Linked DNA regions of Homo sapiens: region 2 is linked to region 1. Evidence: promoter capture Hi-C in 16 types of primary human blood cells and fetal thymus (Javierre and others, 2016). All regions are on one chromosome and are shown on one strand. The core of a region is centred on a gene start or on the middle of the fragment in contact, and the rest is flanking DNA. Distances in the headings are between cores, read along the strand shown. Region 1 holds the start of APOA1 (apolipoprotein A1). Region 2 overlaps ZPR1 (ZPR1 zinc finger).

Region 1 (3,047 bases), core at 548-3,047:
TTCTCTGACTCTGAGGCCACTGCCTCCCTCTTGTATAATTAAGGACCCCTGTGATGACAATGGGCCCACCTGGAGAATCCAGGCCAACCACCCCATCTCCAGGTCCTTAATCACACTAGCAAAATCTTTTTTTGCCATGGAAGGTAGCAAAGCCACAGGTTCCAGGGATGAGGCTGTGGACATCTTTGGGGAGCGTTATTCTGCTTGCCACACAGTAACCCCTGCCATAACTCAGGGCGATGGCATATTCTATCATTATCTTCAATCAGAAACTGATGTGTGGGGAGGTGATGTATCATAACTCATCCAGGGTCAGGCAGCTGGATTTGAACCTGCCTGACCCTTAGATTTGAGGTTTTCTGGCTCCAGAATCTTCTCTGAAGTGAAAGGCATGAGGCCGACCACTCCCTGATCTGGTAAACAGAGATGTCAGCCTGGTTTCTAGTGTTAGGGAGTTTCCTGGAGTGATGGTACAGGGTACATTTCTGCCCTGCATCCCAAGTCCAGAGACTGGGTTCTAGGTCCAGCCTTTCTTCTAACTCCCTGAGAGATGACAGCCTCTGGGCAAAGTCCCTCTGTGCTCTTCAGTCTCTTCATCTGTGAGATGGTGGCATGGGGAGAGGCTGGAGTGATGTCACAGTTCCTCTCAGCCTGCATCACAGGCTCTAGGACTCAGGTCCTATCAGTAACCTGCTGGGGGAGGTCTGGGCCTTCCAGGAGAAACCTGACAAGATGGTGCTGCAAACACCAACGGACACACAGCACTTTACATTCACAGGCTGTCTCAGGGGCCTCCAACAACCCTGACCATTCTTGCCCCATTTTGCAGATAGAAAACCGAGGCTCAGAGAGATTATATAACTTGCCCACGATCTTCCTCCAGCAAGATGGAGGCCAAGTGAAATGAGAAAGCAGGTCTCCTGCCACTTCCTTTGCCCAGAGGTCTTCTCCCCACACCAGGGCTTCCCAAGGGCTGAGATCCAGTCACACCTGTGCGTGATCAAATATAAGTGTGAACAATGCAAAGGGAGACGTCTTCAATCTAAGGGGCTTCAATTCTGTAATGTAATTCTGAGATTATGCCCTTTTTTGTTAAAGCCTTTCCTTTTTGAAGTGATGGTCACTGTAGATGGTGAGGGTTTTTTGGAGGCGGACAATATCTTTACATGACAAAATTAAAAGTTGGCAGCTCCGAATTGATCTCTGGAGTGTTTTGAAATGCAAGAGGTCTCCGAAACCTCAGTCTGGGAGCCACGGAGGGCTCTCCCCTCTCCCCAGGTTTACCAGTTTGGGAGGCTTGGAGAGAGGCCTGGAGGACCTGCTGGGGACTAAAGAAGAGCACTGGTGGGAGGACAGGGCGGGGGAAGGGGGAGGGGAGTGAAGTAGTCTCCCTGGAATGCTGGTGGTGGGGGAGGCAGTCTCCTTGGTGGAGGAGTCCCAGCGTCCCTCCCCTCCCCTCCTCTGCCAACACAATGGACAATGGCAACTGCCCACACACTCCCATGGAGGGGAAGGGGATGAGTGCAGGGAACCCCGACCCCACCCGGGAGACCTGCAAGCCTGCAGACACTCCCCTCCCGCCCCCACTGAACCCTTGACCCCTGCCCTGCAGCCCCCGCAGCTTGCTGTTTGCCCACTCTATTTGCCCAGCCCCAGGGACAGAGCTGATCCTTGAACTCTTAAGTTCCACATTGCCAGGACCAGTGAGCAGCAACAGGGCCGGGGCTGGGCTTATCAGCCTCCCAGCCCAGACCCTGGCTGCAGACATAAATAGGCCCTGCAAGAGCTGGCTGCTTAGAGACTGCGAGAAGGAGGTGCGTCCTGCTGCCTGCCCCGGTCACTCTGGCTCCCCAGCTCAAGGTTCAGGCCTTGCCCCAGGCCGGGCCTCTGGGTACCTGAGGTCTTCTCCCGCTCTGTGCCCTTCTCCTCACCTGGCTGCAATGAGTGGGGGAGCACGGGGCTTCTGCATGCTGAAGGCACCCCACTCAGCCAGGCCCTTCTTCTCCTCCAGGTCCCCCACGGCCCTTCAGGATGAAAGCTGCGGTGCTGACCTTGGCCGTGCTCTTCCTGACGGGTAGGTGTCCCCTAACCTAGGGAGCCAACCATCGGGGGGCTTTCTCCCTAAATCCCCGTGGCCCACCCTCCTGGGCAGAGGCAGCAGGTTTCTCACTGGCCCCCTCTCCCCCACCTCCAAGCTTGGCCTTTCGGCTCAGATCTCAGCCCACAGCTGGCCTGATCTGGGTCTCCCCTCCCACCCTCAGGGAGCCAGGCTCGGCATTTCTGGCAGCAAGATGAACCCCCCCAGAGCCCCTGGGATCGAGTGAAGGACCTGGCCACTGTGTACGTGGATGTGCTCAAAGACAGCGGCAGAGACTATGTGTCCCAGTTTGAAGGCTCCGCCTTGGGAAAACAGCTAAAGTAAGGACCCAGCCTGGGGTTGAGGGCAGGGGTAGGGGGCAGAGGCCTGTGGGATGATGTTGAAGCCAGACTGGCCGAGTCCTCACCTAATATCTGATGAGCTGGGCCCCACAGATGGTCTGGATGGAGAAACTGGAATGGGATCTCCAGGCAGGGTCACAGCCCATGTCCCCTGCAAAGGACAGACCAGGGCTGCCCGATGCGTGATCACAGAGCCACATTGTGCCTGCAAGTGTAGCAAGCCCCTTTCCCTTCTTCACCACCTCCTCTGCTCCTGCCCAGCAAGACTGTGGGCTGTCTTCGGAGAGGAGAATGCGCTGGAGGCATAGAAGCGAGGTCCTTCAAGGGCCCACTTTGGAGACCAACGTAACTGGGCACTAGTCCCAGCTCTGTCTCCTTTTTAGCTCCTCTCTGTGCCTCGGTCCAGCTGCACAACGGGGCATGGCCTGGCGGGGCAGGGGTGTTGGTTGAGAGTGTACTGGAAATGCTAGGCCACTGCACCTCCGCGGACAGGTGTCACCCAGGGCTCACCCCTGATAGGCTGGGGCGCTGGGAGGCCAGCCCTCAACCCTTCTGTCTCACCCTCCAGCCTAAAGCTCCTTGACAACTGGGACAGCGTGACCTCCACC
Region 2 (3,047 bases), core at 388-2,887, 55 kb after region 1:
TCCTGGCCAGCTCTTGGTGTTTTTGGTTTGGGCGACTGCTGTTTAGAAGGCTCTTTCTTTGGTAGCTATTAATGGCCCTAACTGATTGGATGTCCAAGCCTACACTCCAGGTCTCCTGGGTACCAAGTGAGGCTCAGGTCTTCTCTCTGTTGCTCCTGACTGTTATCGATGCAGGTGAAATCTGGAGGAGCAGTAGAACCCTTGGGCACCAGGATCACCCTCCACATCACAGATGCCTCAGATATGACCAGAGACCTCCTCAAGGTAACAGTCTGCTTGGGAAAGTCACTGTTGTCCTCATAAGTTAGATAAACTGTCTCTATCTAGGGGAAGTTGTCTTTTAGAAATAATGTTCAGGGACATGAGGTATCTCCTACTTCCCTGGCTTTGAGGACCCCTGAGCAGAGGGAGTTAATCTAAGATTGGAATTGCAGGTTTAGAAGGTGACCCTGTTAGCTCTTTCTGATGACCTGGTAGCTTTTTGGCCTCCAGTGTCTATCTGGGTCCTCTTCTCTGTCTGTCCCCTAGTGACAGGATACCTGACAGCTCGAAGCTATGACTGAGTTTCCCTTTATTAAGTTGGATCTATTCCCGTGGTTCAGATGGACAGGAGTGAGTCTCAAGCTTTAACAAGGGAGTCAGAGAAAACTGAGACAGCTGCCCTTGTCCGCAGTCTATCACTGCTGGTATTAATTGGGCAGGAGGCCTCTGGTTGGCTTTCTTTGCTTCTGACTTAAAGCTTAAACTGACCTCTCATTTCACAGTCTGAGACTTGCAGTGTGGAAATCCCAGAGCTAGAATTTGAACTGGGAATGGCAGTCCTCGGGGGCAAGTTCACCACACTGGAAGGGCTGCTGAAAGACATCCGGGAACTGGTGAGTCACTTGAGTAGTGTGTAAACCACCTTTGAGCAATTTGGCTGTGTGAAGAGGGACTGGAAGACTTCAGACATCCTAATTTTCGGTGCTGGTAACTGTGGGTTTCTTTGCCTTAAAGCTGGTTTAAGAGACTTAAATATTACTTTGGATGGTGAAGACAAGTTTATGGGAAATGTTGAATGGAAATTCCAGGCCTAACTTTGGGACTTTATAGTTATTTTGTGGTCTTGGACAAGTCATTTATTTTACTGTAAAGTTAGGGGATGAGGGTCCTTCTAGCACCTAAAACTTCCCAACATAAAAAACATACATGTATGGGTTGACTTAGCCCAAATGTTTATCTCCTTGATGAATTATTTCACTTGATTCTCTGTTGGGCATTTTGTATTTGTAAATTGTACTTTTTCTTTGCATTTCTTCTCCAAATTAGTATCAGAGATCATATTCTAAGAACATGTTTCGATTTTGTTTTACATTGCCAGTTTTGTTATCTTGGCACATTATCCCATAGACTCCTAGGAGTGACTGCCTTGGTCAGAAAGGTGGTGTGGGCTAAATGGAAACCAAGTTTCCCTGACAGGGCACCCACTGTCACCCCCTGCCTAGTTTATGGTCAGGCCTAACAAATATAAAGCCAGTATTCACATAGTTTGGATTATCATTTATTGCAGGTGACCAAAAATCCTTTCACACTGGGCGACAGTTCCAATCCTGGACAGACGGAGAGACTACAGGAGTTTAGCCAGAAGATGGACCAGGTAAGAGGTCACTGGCCAGTCAGTACTTAGAATCCTGGGGCTCCAGTGAACAGGAGGCTGCATGCTCATGTCTTGCCACTTTTTGAACATCTAACCATCATGTTGGGGATTCTTCTTCTGGTTTTCTTTTCTTTTTTTTTTTTTTGGAGACAGAGTCTCGTTCTGTTGCCCAGGCTGGAGTGCAGTGGCGTGATCTCGGCTCACTGCAACCTCTGCCTCCCGGGTTCATGCGATTCTGCTGCCTCAGCCTCCCGAGTAGCTGGGATTACAGGCGCACACCACCACGCCTGGCTAATTTTTTGTATTTTTAGTAGAGACAGGGTTTCACTATGTTGGCCAGACTGGTCTCGAACTCCTGACCTCGTGATCTGCCTGCCTGGGCTTCCCAAAGTGCTGGGATTACAGGCGTGAGCCACCGCACCTGGCCCTCTTCTGGTTTTCTATATTCCACGTCTTCTTTCTTGTTTTTCTCCCTTATTTTGTTAGAGCATCTTCTCCAGTAGCTTCCTGGGAAAAAGTGCATGGGAAATAAAATTTCTGGGACCTTCCACATCTGAACATGTCTTTATTCTGTTATCACACTAGAGTGATTATTGGCTGGGAATACGATTCTAGGATAGAAATAATTTTTTATCAGAATTTCGAAGACTGCACTATGGTCTTCCAGTTTGGTAAAGACATTGTACTATAGTCTTCCACTTTGGCTATTGAGAAGTCTGAAGCCATTTGATTCCTGGTCTTTTATATGTGACCTAGTCTTGTGATCTCTTCGTTTCCTTTGATGTGAAATTTCAGGGTGTGCCTTGGTGTGGGTCAGTTTTCATCCACTGGGCTAAGCACTTGGTAGATGTATTTTTTCAGTCTGGAAAACTCATGTGGTTCAGTTCTAGGAAGCTTTCATGAATTATTCTATTGAAGATTATCTTTTTTCTGATTTTTTTTTTCTGTTCTTTCTGAAAACTCCTGGGTTTTAGATATTAGACTTACTTGTCTGGTCTTCTATAATTTACTCTTTTTTTGGTCCTATTTTTGGTTTCTTGGTTTTTTTGTTCTTCTTTGGGAGATTCCCTCAACTTTATTTTCCAACCCTTCAATTGAGGTTTTCATTTCCACTAAAACTTTTATTTTCCAAGGAGCTTTTTAAAAAATAGCATCCTGTCTTAAGGATGTAGTATTTTTTCTTCTTGAGGATTATTATTTTTTAAATTTTTTCAGCATGCAGTTTATATAGCACTTATTGATACTGATGTTGGATCTTTTTTGACATTTTATTCTCCTTGCATCCTTTTTTTCCCCATTTGATTTCCCATCTTTCAGTGTTAAGGGCTTTGCTCAGATGTCTGATAATCATTGATTGTCTTCTTACAAGTAGCGGGCTAAAGACCTGAGTAGGGGGTGAGCCTTGTTGACA

Evidence for each region. Contacts are between HindIII fragments. The CHiCAGO score rates a contact against its expected background, and 5 or more counts as called.
Region 2: a contact is called between a fragment that was not itself captured here and the fragment with the promoter of APOA1 in region 1, in 1 of 17 cell types (total CD8 T cells). The highest score is 6.0, in total CD8 T cells.

Annotation. Positions count from the first base shown.
Region 1 is chr11:116,836,372-116,839,418 of GRCh38, reverse strand. It overlaps APOA1 (apolipoprotein A1), which reads left to right and starts at 1,797. Exons shown (of 4, transcript NM_000039.3): 1 at 1,797-1,814; 2 at 2,012-2,074; 3 at 2,262-2,418; 4 at 3,008-3,047. The coding sequence starts at 2,032. It also overlaps APOA1-AS. The HindIII fragment of the contact is 2,883 bases long and covers 1-2,197 here.
Region 2 is chr11:116,780,747-116,783,793 of GRCh38, reverse strand. ZPR1 (ZPR1 zinc finger) reads left to right here. Exons shown (of 14, transcript NM_003904.5): 10 at 175-264; 11 at 765-875; 12 at 1,550-1,636. Among named protein-coding and RNA genes, the nearest start is that of ZPR1, 5.8 kb to the left of the region's middle. The HindIII fragment of the contact is 1,791 bases long and covers 742-2,532 here.